Regions from separate parts of the Homo sapiens genome. Here all the other regions are linked to region 1. The links are contacts of gene promoters, found by promoter capture Hi-C in human tissues and cell types (Jung and others, 2019). All regions are on one chromosome and are shown on one strand. The core of a region is centred on a gene start or on the middle of the fragment in contact, and the rest is flanking DNA. Distances in the headings are between cores, read along the strand shown.

Region 1 (4,496 bases), core at 693-3,192:
TGAGGTGACTGACCCAGGCCTGTAGCATAAATGGAGCATATCACCACTAGTTATGGCACCTCCTTAGGGTTCTCCCAGATCAACATCTCAGGGGAAAACACACAAGATGGTGTGGCTGCAGGAAGGGAAATTGCTCAGGTTCAGGTGAGTAAGAAAGAAGAAGAATGAAAGATACCTCTTTGGCTGCTACCAAATGAGCTTAGCCCCAGGAGCTCAGGCTGAATCAGCCTGTTAGGAGGACCCACAGGAACCTCCGCCAGTGCTAGCAAGTGGGCAGTGCTACAGTGTGGCATCATCGGGTGCTGAGACAAAGATCAAAAGGCCGCCTGAAGCCATTCCACTGTTGGTATTCAGAAGAAATTTGGTGTACTCTTTGATCTGCTGGTTGGCTCTTGTATCACAGCTACAATCTCTAAGTTTGGCCCCCACATGCAAAGACAAATGAAAATGGAGAAATACAGGATGAAAGGTTTGAGAGTGCTAGGTCAGGCTGAATGTGTCCCATGGTGTGAGCTTAAATTTTTGGCCCCCAAGTAAAATTCTTCAAAGAGTAACTCTCCTGCCCTCTATCCCCAGAGATGCCTTTATCAGGAAACACAAAGGAGGGAGACCTACTACTATGTAAATGGAGGCTACTTGGAGAATGACTATGTCTGAGGCTGACCAGTGTCTGCAGGGTTCAGTCACTTTGGAGTAAAAACTGAGATTAGAGAAATAAAGCCAGTAAACCACAGTAAGCAAGTTTATTATACATCATCACGAGTTCAAAACAAGTAGGATTTTACTAAAAATCATTCATAAGAATTAAAACTTTTCATATTATCCAAGCTCTTTTACTATGAAAGTTTAATGAAAACTACAGAAGAAATATCACTAATTATGCTCCCTAAGTAAAAAAAAAAACATAATTAAGTTTATAAAGAGTCAGTAATAATGTTTATTCTCGGTATCATAATTTTTGGACACTTCTGGCACTCTCTCATGGGTAGATAGGTTGTTTAGTAAAATAAATAGAAAACACACATTTCCTACCAGCTGACATTGATGGCTAAATCACAAAATCAAGCAGGAAATGAGTTTGAAGGCAAGCCATATTTCACGTGACTTACATTTGCAGATTACTGCTGATGGTCTCTCCAGGCTTATAGACTTCAGCCTGAAAATCAGGAAGCAAAGAATAATAGCAAAGAAGAAAAATTTAAAATCATTCAGTAGTGTAACTCCTCTCCCCGCTCCAAGTCATGGAATAAGATTCACTCTTACAACAAATACTTCCTACCATCTAAGTTTAGATGAACTTTTAAAGAAAATCCCCAAGTATAGATCCTATGAGAGAAACTAATCACTAAATCAGTGAAATGCCAAAACATCTGAAATATGTATATGTATTGATGTATTTCAATACAAATGTGACATTAGGGATAACCATTTGTTCTCTCAAATTTACGAGATACAGTTATCTTTGCCAAAAACGGAGAGCATCTCAGTTCCCTTTCTGTTCCCACCTAGTTCTCAACAGGACTAAAGGACTTATCCTATGCCTAGTTTTTCACTCCCCTCAGAGGGTCAGGTGAACTGGGGAGCAAGAGGAACTGGCGCCTTTCCCTACTTCTCTTTCAATTCGTTTATTGAGGTAAGTGGCGAGGGCCTGGACTGAGGAAGCTTGAGAAAGACTGATGGAGGAAGGGCTGGCTGTAGGGGTCAGGGAAGGGGCTGCCTGAAGAACAGCCTGCCTCTCCAAGGAGCTGAGGAAGTCCGGTCCCAACCTCGCCCCTGCCGTCACGAACCTCGGTGCACTGGCCCAGGGAAACAACTCCAGTTTTCCGTTCCGCCGAAGTCAGTCCCCCACCGGCGGCAGGTGCTGGGCGTTGGCGCTGCCCCCTCCTCTCTCAGTGATTCCGAAGCCTGGCTCCGCCGGAGCGGAGACAGGGGACGCCGAGAGCGTCTCCACGGAAACAGAGAGGCGAGGCATGACGGCCGGGGGTGGAGTTAGGCTAAACCGGGCCTCGGGATTGGGGCAGCTCCCAGACTCTTCGGGCTTGGGGGCGGAGTCTGGCGAGGGGTGGAGCTTACTGACGGCCGGGCGGGGCCCCCAGATAGCTGAGGCTTTTCAAGCAGGGCTGCTTTCAGAAGTTAGCTCGCTTTTAGGCATTTTCACGTAACCCAAGAGGCTCGAATTTGCCACTTTCATTTCTTTCGTGGCCTTGCATTCTCAATGCTTTTTCTTCATTTCTCTTTTGTCCACAGGATTGATGGGAAAACGCTGAGCTAGGCATTCATGATCCCCGTGACCTGAAGCCAATTTATCCATCTAGCTAAGTCATTCATTCTCCTCTTCCTCAGCCTCTCTTGCAGTCAGAACCCACCACAAATGCCTTTTCCTGTCATGTCCCCACAGACAATTCAATTTTGAATTGTGGTTCGCTAAATACTCAAGGTCTCTTTCAGAGAATCTCCCTGCATCTGTCCTTATTTGTTTTGCATTTTTACCTGAAACTCAGGGTTTTATATTTACACTAAATAAATATCATCGTATTAATCTCGGCCCATCATTCCATCTCTTCTCTCAGACATGAGTGCAAGGAAGTGAAATTCCTTGCTCATTCCCTCATATATATATGGGGCAAGAGAGTGAGGCTTGCCACTTGTTACTTCTAAAATACAGAAGTGCTGGAAAGTTAGGCTATTGTTCCTTGTCTACTGACACACATTGTAGGAGAACGAGCCAGCGATATTGCTCACACGAATCATTCTATTAACCATAAATCGATTCTATTTAGAGTACAAGCATATCAACCATAACCACACTTTCATTCTAACATCTCATTTGCTGTAACAAATTACTAAATTATTTCCAAGTATGTTTACATTATACATTCAATGAGCACTGTGACTATCTGTAATTGGGCTCCACCCCATCCCCCACACCAGTAAGACTCTCATTCTATTCTCATGAGTTTATTTTCCAGTTTCAGCATCACCTTAACACACTCCACTGTGACCTGTGTGAATTCTTTTCCAGTCCTTGCTGCTTTTTCTGACTTAGAGTCTGTTTGTGAATTCCATGCACCTTCCTTTCTCACAGGAGGCTGTCTTAGTTGGCTTTCTAGGTAGTTCCTTCCTGCTTCTTTGGACTTACTTCTCCTACTTGCTGTTTTTTCACTAGAAGTTCTTTGACTAACTCTCTTTCTCCTTCTGTTTAGCATAGAATTCCTTCAGTTAGAGAACTTTGTTTGCAAGTGACAGAAAACACAAACGGGCTTAAGCAAAAAAGGAAACTGATGAAAACCAAAGGATGCCAGATTCAGCTGCAACTTTATCTAGAAACTCAGGCCTTTCTGAAAGTTTTGAGGATTCCAGAATACCTCTTCCTTTCACTACACAGAATTAATTTCTCCTCCTCTCGCCTCCTTTCTCTTAGACCTACCTTGATTTTATCAGTATAACTTTGCATGGTGTTTGGCTTATGGGAACCAAACTTGCCTGAAAGATTGTGAGTACCTTGAAAGCAGAGACTTTGTTTTATTGTTTTCTGAATTCCCTTGTACCGTATGCAAGGATTAGTATACAGTATGTGCTCAAAAATATTTTTTGAATTAACAGAATGACAGAATAGAGTGGTTTTTCAAACAGATTCTTCCTTGTGTAATTCTTCTCATTGCTTCCTCAATCTTCTCCACCTAGAATTCTAGGGGGAAGGTCAGGTGACACAACTGATAGTTTGAATGCTATTACTGACATAACAACCTCTAAAGTTTCCTCTTCCAGTCTTGCTCTGGAGAAATGATTTTAGGTTAGGTCAGCTCCCTAAAGAAGCAAGAGACAATTTTCTAATGGAAGCCAATCCATCTTAACTGCTCCCCATAATTGTTCTCAAAGTGTTTTTGATATCTCAATCATCAATTTCTACAGTAAAATTATTCTGAATCATTCTTGTTTTACTAAACACATCCCCAAGTAACATCTTAGGAAAGAACATATGAGATAAAATTTTAAGTTCTTTCATGTCTGACAATATCCTTATTTTGCCTACAATCATTTGGTAGGATTGCACATTCTAGATTAACAATCATTTCCCTCTGAATTTAGAAGGTATTATTTCACTGTTTTCTAGTATCCAGTGTTTGGGATGAGAAGTCTAGTGGCAATTTTATTGTCCTTCCTTTGTATGTGATGTAGTAGTAAGATCCATATGCAGTGACAACCACAAATTGACAACCACAAATCTGTGTGGCCTAAAACAACAAAATTTATTGATTGATTACCGTATGTCACCATCACAAGTCAGCCTTGGGTTTTGCTCCATGCTATGCCACAGCAGAATCAATATGAGAGAACCTTTGCCACCTGGAGGATGGCTGGTCTGTAGCAGAGAGATCATGAGAGTAAACTGCACATTAGCTTTAAAGGCTTCATCCAAAAGGGTATCCATCACTTTCACATTTCGTTGGCCACAACTGAAGTAGCCATGCTCAACTTTAAGAAAGCAGGTATGC
Region 2 (4,496 bases), core at 887-3,386, 40 kb after region 1:
TCAAAAGTCGTTCAGTGCTGATAATTATTAGAGATCAGGTCTCACAAATATTTCCTATGTGATAACATTTTCATGGGCATTCAGGAGAAACAGTTTCGTGAGGGAGAAAGATGGAGTTGTGATGACTGGAATAAGACAAGAATAGATTGTAGATGGAAGACACAATCCATATTAATTTTCTACAGTCATAATCAGGGACACTAGTAATTGGAAGGGGACAAGGCAAAGCACTCCTTCACTATTCTCTCAGTTCTTGGCTTTGTATCTGAAGTGACCTCATAAAATATTAGGCACATAATATTGAACACCACTGGCTGAACAAGTAATTGATCATATCATTCCCCTCCTTTCAATCCTTCAAAGTCTTCACGTCATACCAAGAAAACTATCAAGTTCTTAATCCTGCTTCTGAAAGAAGCAGACACTAAGACAGGATTAACAGGCAAGAATTCTATTAGGAGAAATACTCTGTTTGAGAAAATAGGTCGAAGCTAGGTTAGACTGGGAGCACCATCAGACTGCAGTGCAAGTCTGACCAGAGAGGAGAGAGGGAAGGAAGTCTGAGTGCTGTACAGTCTAAGCAAGGCCATGGGGAGTCCTCAAAATCAAATTTGCTGTCAGAGGATGCCAGTGTCTTCCAGGAATTGTCCTGCCTTAGCAGAACCAATGCGCTCATCATTGACCGGAAGCAGCATGTTGAGAGCATAGGTTCATCAGAGAGAAATGTGGCAATGGATTTAAAAGGCAGCAGCTGGGGCCTTTGGTCAAGTATACTCCCACACAGTTGCAGATCTACAAGGTGTGTTTCTCATGGCTGCCACAGGCCACTCTTAGGCCACACAGATTTACTTTTATGCAGATTTGTAGAGTAGCTCCTCTGTGGTTTCTGTGGTCTTTCCTTCCTGTGGGAAAACTCAGAATAGGGAGGTGACTGGGATGAGCTACTGCTCCCATTGCTCCTGTTGATGTTGGGGCCATAACTGAGACTTACCCTGACTCTCCTCCACTATGCATTCCAACTCCCTTTACACTCAGCTATTCCCTAGGCAAGTCTTGGTAGCATTTCTGAAGTATCCAAACCCCTGAAAATCACATTTGTCTAAGCCTGAGGTTGCTACAAATGTCCATTCACAGATACAGCAAGTAAAGGGAGAACCAGGTGGTGACCAAATAGAGCACCTGTGTTTCATATGCATTCCTCCATGCCCCTATTGGGTAAAAACAGCATTGCCTCCTCTTGCTGATCAGGGAAAATTACTCTTGCCAGTAAGGTGACTCCTCTCCTTACCAGGGGTCTGGGAATAATGAGTTCAATGTGCTCTGGAGGCAGCCATAACTTATAGTTCAATGCTATGTTCCCTAGCAGAGCACGTGCCTACTGGGGACCCAGACTTCCAGCCCTGAAGAGTCCAGAGTTGTAGGGACAGGAAGCATGAAACTACCAGTATGTCACTGGGAGTTATGACAAGTGAGGCTATTCTTGCTTCTACCCCTTGATGCTCTAACCCATGCCTTTTTCCTATAGAGAATACAGCATATTGGATCTCTAGTTAATTAAATGCACTGCATCCTAGAGAATGACATCTACCTTTCAGTGTTTCCTCTGAGCTGGTGCTTCCATTGGCACCTTTAGAAGACTCTTCCAGACTTGTATGAGACCAGTTGCATCTGGTTGGTAGCGTATGTGATACAACCACTGAATCCCATGATCTCAGATCCACTTCTGTGCTCATTTCACTATGAAGTTGGTCTTATGGTTAGAGGCTATGCTTTGTGAGATTTCTTGCCTGTGGATCACTCATTCCATAAACCACCAAATAATAGAGTGGGACACACACAGTGTTGCCCTGGGACAGAAAAGGCAAACCCATATTTAGTTTAGGTATCCATCCCTGTGAACCTCTGGACCTTCCAGGAGTATTCCATGAGGAACGTGTCATGTTGGAAATTTATCACTGGTCTCTGTTGCTGGAAGGTTGGGTATTCAGAGGTAGCCATAGCTATATCAGCCTTGGTAAGTGGGAGTCCATGCTTTGGGGCAATGTCACCTCCATAATATCCTATAATGCCATCACATGCCTGGGGTAGTTGACAATGAAGGCTGGCTAAATCAATTCACCAACTCATATTATCTATTTCTTTTTTTAGTATCTCTTCAGGGATAGATGCTTTTTGGTGGGCATTAATAGGTGGTACAAAAACCTTTTTGCTTTGTGTTCACTCTCATATGTCTATCCAAATGCCTCTATTCAGAACTACTTTTCTCAGATCATCCAGTCTTTTTCCCCTCGAAGTCCCTGAGCAATTTGTTAGGACGATGGCCACTGCTCAGAAATATTTATATGTTCTTCCACACAAAGTGCATGAGAAAGTGCACTGCTCATAGCTCAGCCAATTTTTCATTCTCCACATGTTTCAGGGATATCTCTGACTATAGTTGTCAAACAAATGCCATCCATTTTTAGCTTGTACCCACATAATGAGATGACTGAGGTTGCAGCTGGGCCTTTTTACGTGTTTTGCTGGATAGTAAGCTATACTTGTGCAATGAGAGACTGTGAAAGACCTGTTTTGGCAGGGAACAATGATAGTGTGAGGTGCGCTGTGAACTGAACAGGGATTCTAGAGATCACACAGGACTGGGAGAGGTTGGAATTCCAGCCAATGACATGGAGAAATCTTCCGGAAAACTCAGGCATTCCTGAAGAATCCAGAAAGGCCACATTTTGGCATTGAGCTTCTCTAGCCCTAGAGCCAGGGATACTCTAACTGCCCTAACAAAATCTGAAACCAAGCTTTGATAGGATCAGGCTGGTCCACCAGTAATTTAACTGCTTGTCAGAAAAAAAAAGAAAAAAAACCTCAGCACTCTTTAAAGGAAGACAATAAAATACAGATTTTTAACAACGTAGCATTAACAATGTTTGGCATACAACAAAACATAATTAGATAGGCAAAGAATTAGAAAACTGTGACATAAAACTATGACAGGGAAAAAACAAATCCAGAGTTGACAAATATGTTGCAATTAGCAGAAAAGACCTTTAAAGCAGCTATTGCAAATATGTTCAAGAATTTAAAAATGGACATAATGGGTGGCCAGGTATAGTATGACAATGGAAAAATAAAACTATCAAAAGATGAATGGAAATGCTAGAATTGAAAAATACAATATAAGAAAAGACAAATTTAATGCATAGTTTTAACAGCAGTGCGTAAGAAAGGTCACTGAACTTAAAAACCAATTAAAAGAAACAATCAAACTAAAAACAGAGGGAAGAAAAAAACTGAAAACAAACAAACAAACAAACTACAGGACCAGAGATAACATGTGGGAACAGCAAGAGGTTTAATATATGTGTATTTGGAATCCAAAAGGAGAAGAGAGAGAGAGTGTAGATAGAGCAGAAAAAATATTCAAAGAAATTGGCCAGGTGCAGCGGCTTACCCTGTAATCCCAGCACTTTGGGAGGCCAAGTGGGACAGATCACAAGGTCAGAGGTTTGAGACCAGCCTGGCCAATGTAGTGAAACCCCATCTCTACTAAAAATACAAAAAAAAAAAATTAGCTAGGCATGGTGGCGGGCACCTGTAATCCCAGCTACTCGGGAGGCTGAGGCAGGAGAATCCCTTGAACCCGGGAGGCGGAGGTTGCAGTGAGCCAAGATTGTGCCACTGCACTCCAGCCTGGGCAACAGTGTGAGACTCCATCTTAAAAAAAAAAAAGAAAGAAAAAAAGAAAAAGAAATAATGCCAGCCAGAATATCAAGTGATGTTACTATTGAAGCACTGAAAGAAAAGACCTGTCAAATTAGAATTCTAAATGCAAAGAAAATACTCTTTAAAAATGAAAGCAAAATAAGGACATTTTCAAATAAGCAAATGCTAAGAACTTTCATCAACAGCTGACTTGAATTACAATAAATGATAAAGTTTTTTGGGTGGAAAACCATGATACCCAACGGGAGCATGGATCTACAGGAAGGAGTGAAAAACACCAGAAATGAGGAATATGTGGGTAAAACAGAAAAGTTTTCTGCTTGTATCTTAATTTCTTTAAAACAAAATTGACTGTGTCTTTATGGTAGAATGATTTATACCCATGTAACAAACCTGCACATATACCCTCTAAACCTAAAATAAAAATTGGAAAAAAATTTGTCTTTCTGATTGTATTTATTTGAATCTATGTTTTTTCTTTATTAGTCTACCCAGCAATCTATCTATTTATTCTTTCAAATAACCAACCCCTGGACTTGTGGATCTTTTTTATGGTTTTTCATATTTCAATTTTCTTCAAGTCACCTCTCATTTTGTTTTTTTCTTATCTTCTGCTGGCTTTGGGGTTCATTTGCTCTTTGTTCTCTAATTCCTCTAGGTGTGATGATGGCTTGCTAATCTGAGATCTTTTTGACTTTTTGATGTGGGCATTTAGCACTATAAACTTCCCTCTTAACACTGCTTTAGCTGTGTCCCAGATATTCTGATATGTTGTA
Region 3 (4,496 bases), core at 583-3,082, 39 kb before region 1:
AGGACACTCACACCAGGTGACAGCTCAGGTGAAAAGTAGCGCATGACCTAAGCTATTTATCTGACGCAAATACTCCCACCTCAGAATACTTCTGTGCTTTGTCTTTCCATTATGAACTTCCTACATAATGTGAATACAACACTAAAGTCTGTTTTGTAATATTTCATATTCTTGGTTATATTTACTGATTAGAGAGTTATTGCTTTTAGAAGTCAGTAAGTAAAACATTTCATATTTTCCACTTTAATAAAAAGTATATATATATATATAATTAAAAATATATGTAGTCCCGAAACAATTTTTTTATATTTTAGTAATTAAACCTTAATGTAAAAATATTTGCAACATTTCATAAGGTTTTTTTTTTTAGGAATGAGTTAGATAAGCTACCAAGATTACATATTTAAAGACTACTTGTCAGCTAAGCTATTTTTCTATGAATAAAGGATTGTTTTCTAGAATATTAAATATAAAAGAATATATTCAAGTTTCAAATCTTTGGGCAATCCAAATATGTGTCCTGTACCCTTTACAAAGGCTACAAGTAGCCTTCTCTCCTTGCTTGTAGACCACTTCCTTGAATTGACAGCAGGTATATTCAGAAGATGAAAATCAATTTTATTGTGGGTTTCTTATGCTCCTTAAAAAGAAGATTCTACAATAAAATAAATTTGGGAAACATTTTTGCAAATTTCCTTTTTCAGTAAACCACACAATATACATCAGCATGCTGAATGCTCTGATTAGTCCTGCAATAAATTAACCTGCTTAACCTCAATGTTAGTTCACCGGGTATTTCTCAAGCTTATTTGGCCAGAAAATTGTTTTGTTTTGCTTTACATCAAATCTGTAAACACCTGTGGAATTTTGCCTTAGAACATAATTTGTGTATCTTAAACAAACATTATTAGAAAAAAATTGCTGCTCAACCCTTAATAAATTTAAAAGTCAAGTGTAAATAATGTTTGAATTATCTATTGATTCTCTTACCCATTACCATTTTTGTCATCTCTTCCCTAGCCCCATGGGGCATAAGGCTCAAATCAGATGTCACAGATGGCACAGCAATGATTCATGACAATGGATAATATTTAAAAAAAAAAAGTATCAGGGACAAAGAAACACTTTAACAAATGGAAAATAACCCAAAAAGAAATGATTGGCTTACTTTAAACACACCTTTGCTATAAAACAGCAAGTGTTTTATAAAGTAATTTAAATAACTCTAGGTTACTGCTCTGTAAGTCTCAAGAGATAGAACTGACCTGAGATGACTATTGTTAATGCCATAGCTTTGATTAAATGAACTTCACTGTGACCCTAGAGTGATGGTTCTTCCAATGAGAAGCAACGAGATTGCTCAGTTATATGCTATCTCAGGAAAATTGCCTCTAATGTCACAACCATATGGAATGGAACTTTAAGATACTATTAACACATTTCTATATTCTAGGCTTACATACACATTTTAAGATTTAGGATTCATTCAAGTTAATAAGAGTGAATGTGCATATCTCATTTTCTGGTACATCCCTAATTCAAACCACAATTTTCCTCCAATAAAGTTCATGTGTTGAATGTGGAAAAAAAATTATAACAATTTTTGAAAAAAGGTGACACAAATGTTTACATGTCCTTCAGCTGAAGTTTTTCCAGTAATACTTTTGTAATAATTTTAATTTTCTATATTTCAACCAGACAAAAGCCACTGCATTTTGTGGGAGATAATCCTACAGAAGAGACTTTGGCTATTATAACTTTGGACTTTGGGCCAGGTGCGGTGGCTTACGCCTGTAATCCCAGCTCTTTGGGAGACCAAGGTAGGAGAATCACTTGAGGTTAGGAGTTCGAGACCAGCCTGGCCAACATGGTGAAACCCCGTCTCTACTAAAAATACAAAAATTAGCTTGGCATGGTGGTTTGTGCCTGTAGTCCCAGCTACTCGGGAGGCTGAGGCAGGAAAATCACTTGAACCTGGAAGAAGGAGGTTGCAGTGAGCTGAGATCACATCACTGTACTCCAGCCTGGTTGACAGAACAAGAGTTTGTCTCAAAACAAAACAAAAAGTTAGGCTTTGTTAACTTTTGGATTGGAGAAACATTTTTACTTATAGTAACTTTCCTTTAAGAAATATTATATATTAAAATGTTTTCTACCCTCAAATAGACTATTTGGCATTTTAGGTTCTTATAAATTTGAAAAAGCTTTATGACAAGCTGGCTCACATCTATGACACCTTATGACAAGTGACATATTTAGCTTATATTTACACTATCTCCAATGAAAGCCTCAATTTAAAACAGTGAATATGATAAAATTCAATGGAATAAAACAGCTAATGAGCAAATATTATCTTAGTTCTACTTTCAGTTTAAATATCACTGTAGAATTTTGGGCAAATACTAGAATGTAGGTTGTTTTGTTTTGTTTTGTTTGTTTTGTTTTGAGATGGAGTCTTGCTCTTGTCACCCAAGCTGGAGCGCAATGGAGCAATCTCAGCTCACTGCAACTTTTGTCTCTCGGGTTCAAGCAATTCCCTGCCTCAGCCTTCTGAGTAGCTGGGATTACAGGCGTCCGCCATCATGCCCGGCTAATTTTTTTGTATTTTTAGTAGAGACGGGTTTTCACCATGTTGGCCAGGCTGGTCTCAAACTCCTGACCTCAGGTGATCCACCCGCCTTGGCCTCCCAAAGTGCTAGAATTACAGGCATGAGCCACCGCGCCCAGCCAAAATGGAGGTTTTTTATAATAGCACTTTTTATTTACAATAGTTAATTTCTTGAGAAATAATTGTAAATAATATTTTAAAGTTCACCAAAATATTTTTTTTCACATCCATCCTGCAGTGAAACCCTTTTCATAATATACATAACCACCTCCTATCCCACCCCTGCCACACACACACCCTAGTTCATTTGTTTTGTTGTTCACATTTTTGTGTGTCTCATATTCATAAGTCAGGTCACAACCTGATGGGAAATATGTATTGGCTCCAACATATAGAGACTCTTCTAATGTTGTTTACATGACTCCATAAATTTTCTCCATGGTACCATTGGGTAACAAAAAGTTGCTGATACCCTATTTTCTCATAGAAAAGCCTGAAATGACATGTAGACATTGTCATGTTGAGGCCTGAGTTTTTCTTTTTGAATCCTGTGGTATTTTCCCCAAAAAATTTGGAGAAAAGAATAATTTAGAATACCAAATTTACATGCCAAATTCTAGAATTTCATTTTTTTATTTGATTATAGATGACTAGTTAAAATGACCAGTTCCTAATATGTAACTAAGAAATATTTATGACAACAATATCAGTATAATTAGTGTAGAAATGAAAATATTTAATACTTGGAATGTATACTAACTTTCTGGAAAATTTTGAAATACAAAAAATGTATTAGAAATGATGTCATGGAAAATATAAAATTGACAATTTTATTTGCAATTGTGAATTGCAGGATTTTCATGTCTTTTTACTATTTACAAAGATAAATTCTCTGATTCAAATCAGTAGGACTTCTTGACCCAAACTTCAAAGTCCACTATCTAAACTTAGGAAAATCAGTGTGATTTTCAAGTTATAGTACTCTTTGAAAGTATCTCCTCTATGAAAGTCAATATTCAGATTACGTATACAGAAAAACTGTAGAAAGGTTTAAACCTAATGATAGGAACTATGTTAATTCATGGGGGAAGTTCTGGAGATATTATTAGGTGCTATGTGTTGTCTTCCCTGGCTCGGAAGGACATCACCAGAATGCCCCCGTGTCTGGGCAGCCTCGTGATCCAACATTCCCTTTCCTTAATTCCATAAAGACGTTTAATTGACTGGGTTGAAGTGTGCTAAGTTGTCTTAATGTTTCAAATTCATACATGAAACAATCTGGAATCTTCCCCCAGGAGCTCGGTGTTCTGGCTCCTTCTGTGCTCTGCCCACAGTCCCACCACTTACCTTTCCTCTCAGCGTCCTCAGCCCTGGTCAGGTAATGGTACAGGTAATCCAGTTTATCAGGCTGCTCCTCCAGGGGCTTCTGCAGCCAGAAGAGGGACCTGACTCTCGCAGCCTCCCTCAGGGCATCCCACCGCTCCATCAGAGCGAAGAGCTCGGTGAAGGACTTATGATAACCATCTCGCAGCATGTCCACACAGATATTCTTCTTGTAGGAGTTCCTATAACTGGAAATATGAATCAGAACACTCTCAGGTTTATGTTAATCCTTTCAGTCTGCACGGTATTTTCATTCTCTAATAATTAAAGGTTGAATCATGTTGCCTTTTATCCCTCAGTGAAAGCACTGAAAACTATCAAAAGATCTTTGCCTCAAACACTTATAATTGAACAACTTCTGTTTAATGAAAGATGCCAGGAGCTATCTAAACACAGTAATTTTAATGAAATTACATTATAAACATATCAGTTCCAGAGCTGAGCTCCATTTGATAAGGACAAATAAGCTAGTTGACTGATGAATATTAAAAAATACTTGATATAT

Evidence for each region. Contacts are between HindIII fragments. The study calls those that stand out against the background at their distance.
Region 2: a fragment that was not itself captured here is called in contact with the fragment with the promoter of TTC29 in region 1 in 1 of the 25 tissues and cell types used here (spleen).
Region 3: a contact is called between a fragment that was not itself captured here and the fragment with the promoter of TTC29 in region 1, in 1 of the 25 tissues and cell types used here (adrenal gland).

Annotation. Positions count from the first base shown.
Region 1 is chr4:146,943,922-146,948,417 of GRCh38, forward strand. It overlaps TTC29 (tetratricopeptide repeat domain 29), which reads right to left and starts at 1,943. Exons shown (of 13, transcript NM_031956.4): 1 at 1,788-1,943; 2 at 1,110-1,156. TTC29-AS1 (TTC29 antisense RNA 1) reads left to right here. Exons shown (of 7, transcript NR_188447.1): 3 at 1,510-1,633. RefSeq lists a silencer at 1,936-2,075. The HindIII fragment of the contact is 11,756 bases long and covers 616-4,496 here.
Region 2 is chr4:146,984,214-146,988,709 of GRCh38, forward strand. It overlaps LOC105377475 (a long non-coding RNA gene), which reads right to left. Exons shown (of 5, transcript XR_939315.3): 5 at 1-125. Among named protein-coding and RNA genes, the nearest start is that of TTC29, 41 kb to the left of the region's middle. The HindIII fragment of the contact is 7,005 bases long and covers 1-4,496 here.
Region 3 is chr4:146,905,071-146,909,566 of GRCh38, forward strand. It overlaps TTC29 (tetratricopeptide repeat domain 29), which reads right to left. Exons shown (of 13, transcript NM_031956.4): 5 at 3,956-4,179. Among named protein-coding and RNA genes, the nearest start is that of TTC29-AS1, 27 kb to the right of the region's middle. The HindIII fragment of the contact is 5,691 bases long and covers 1-4,496 here.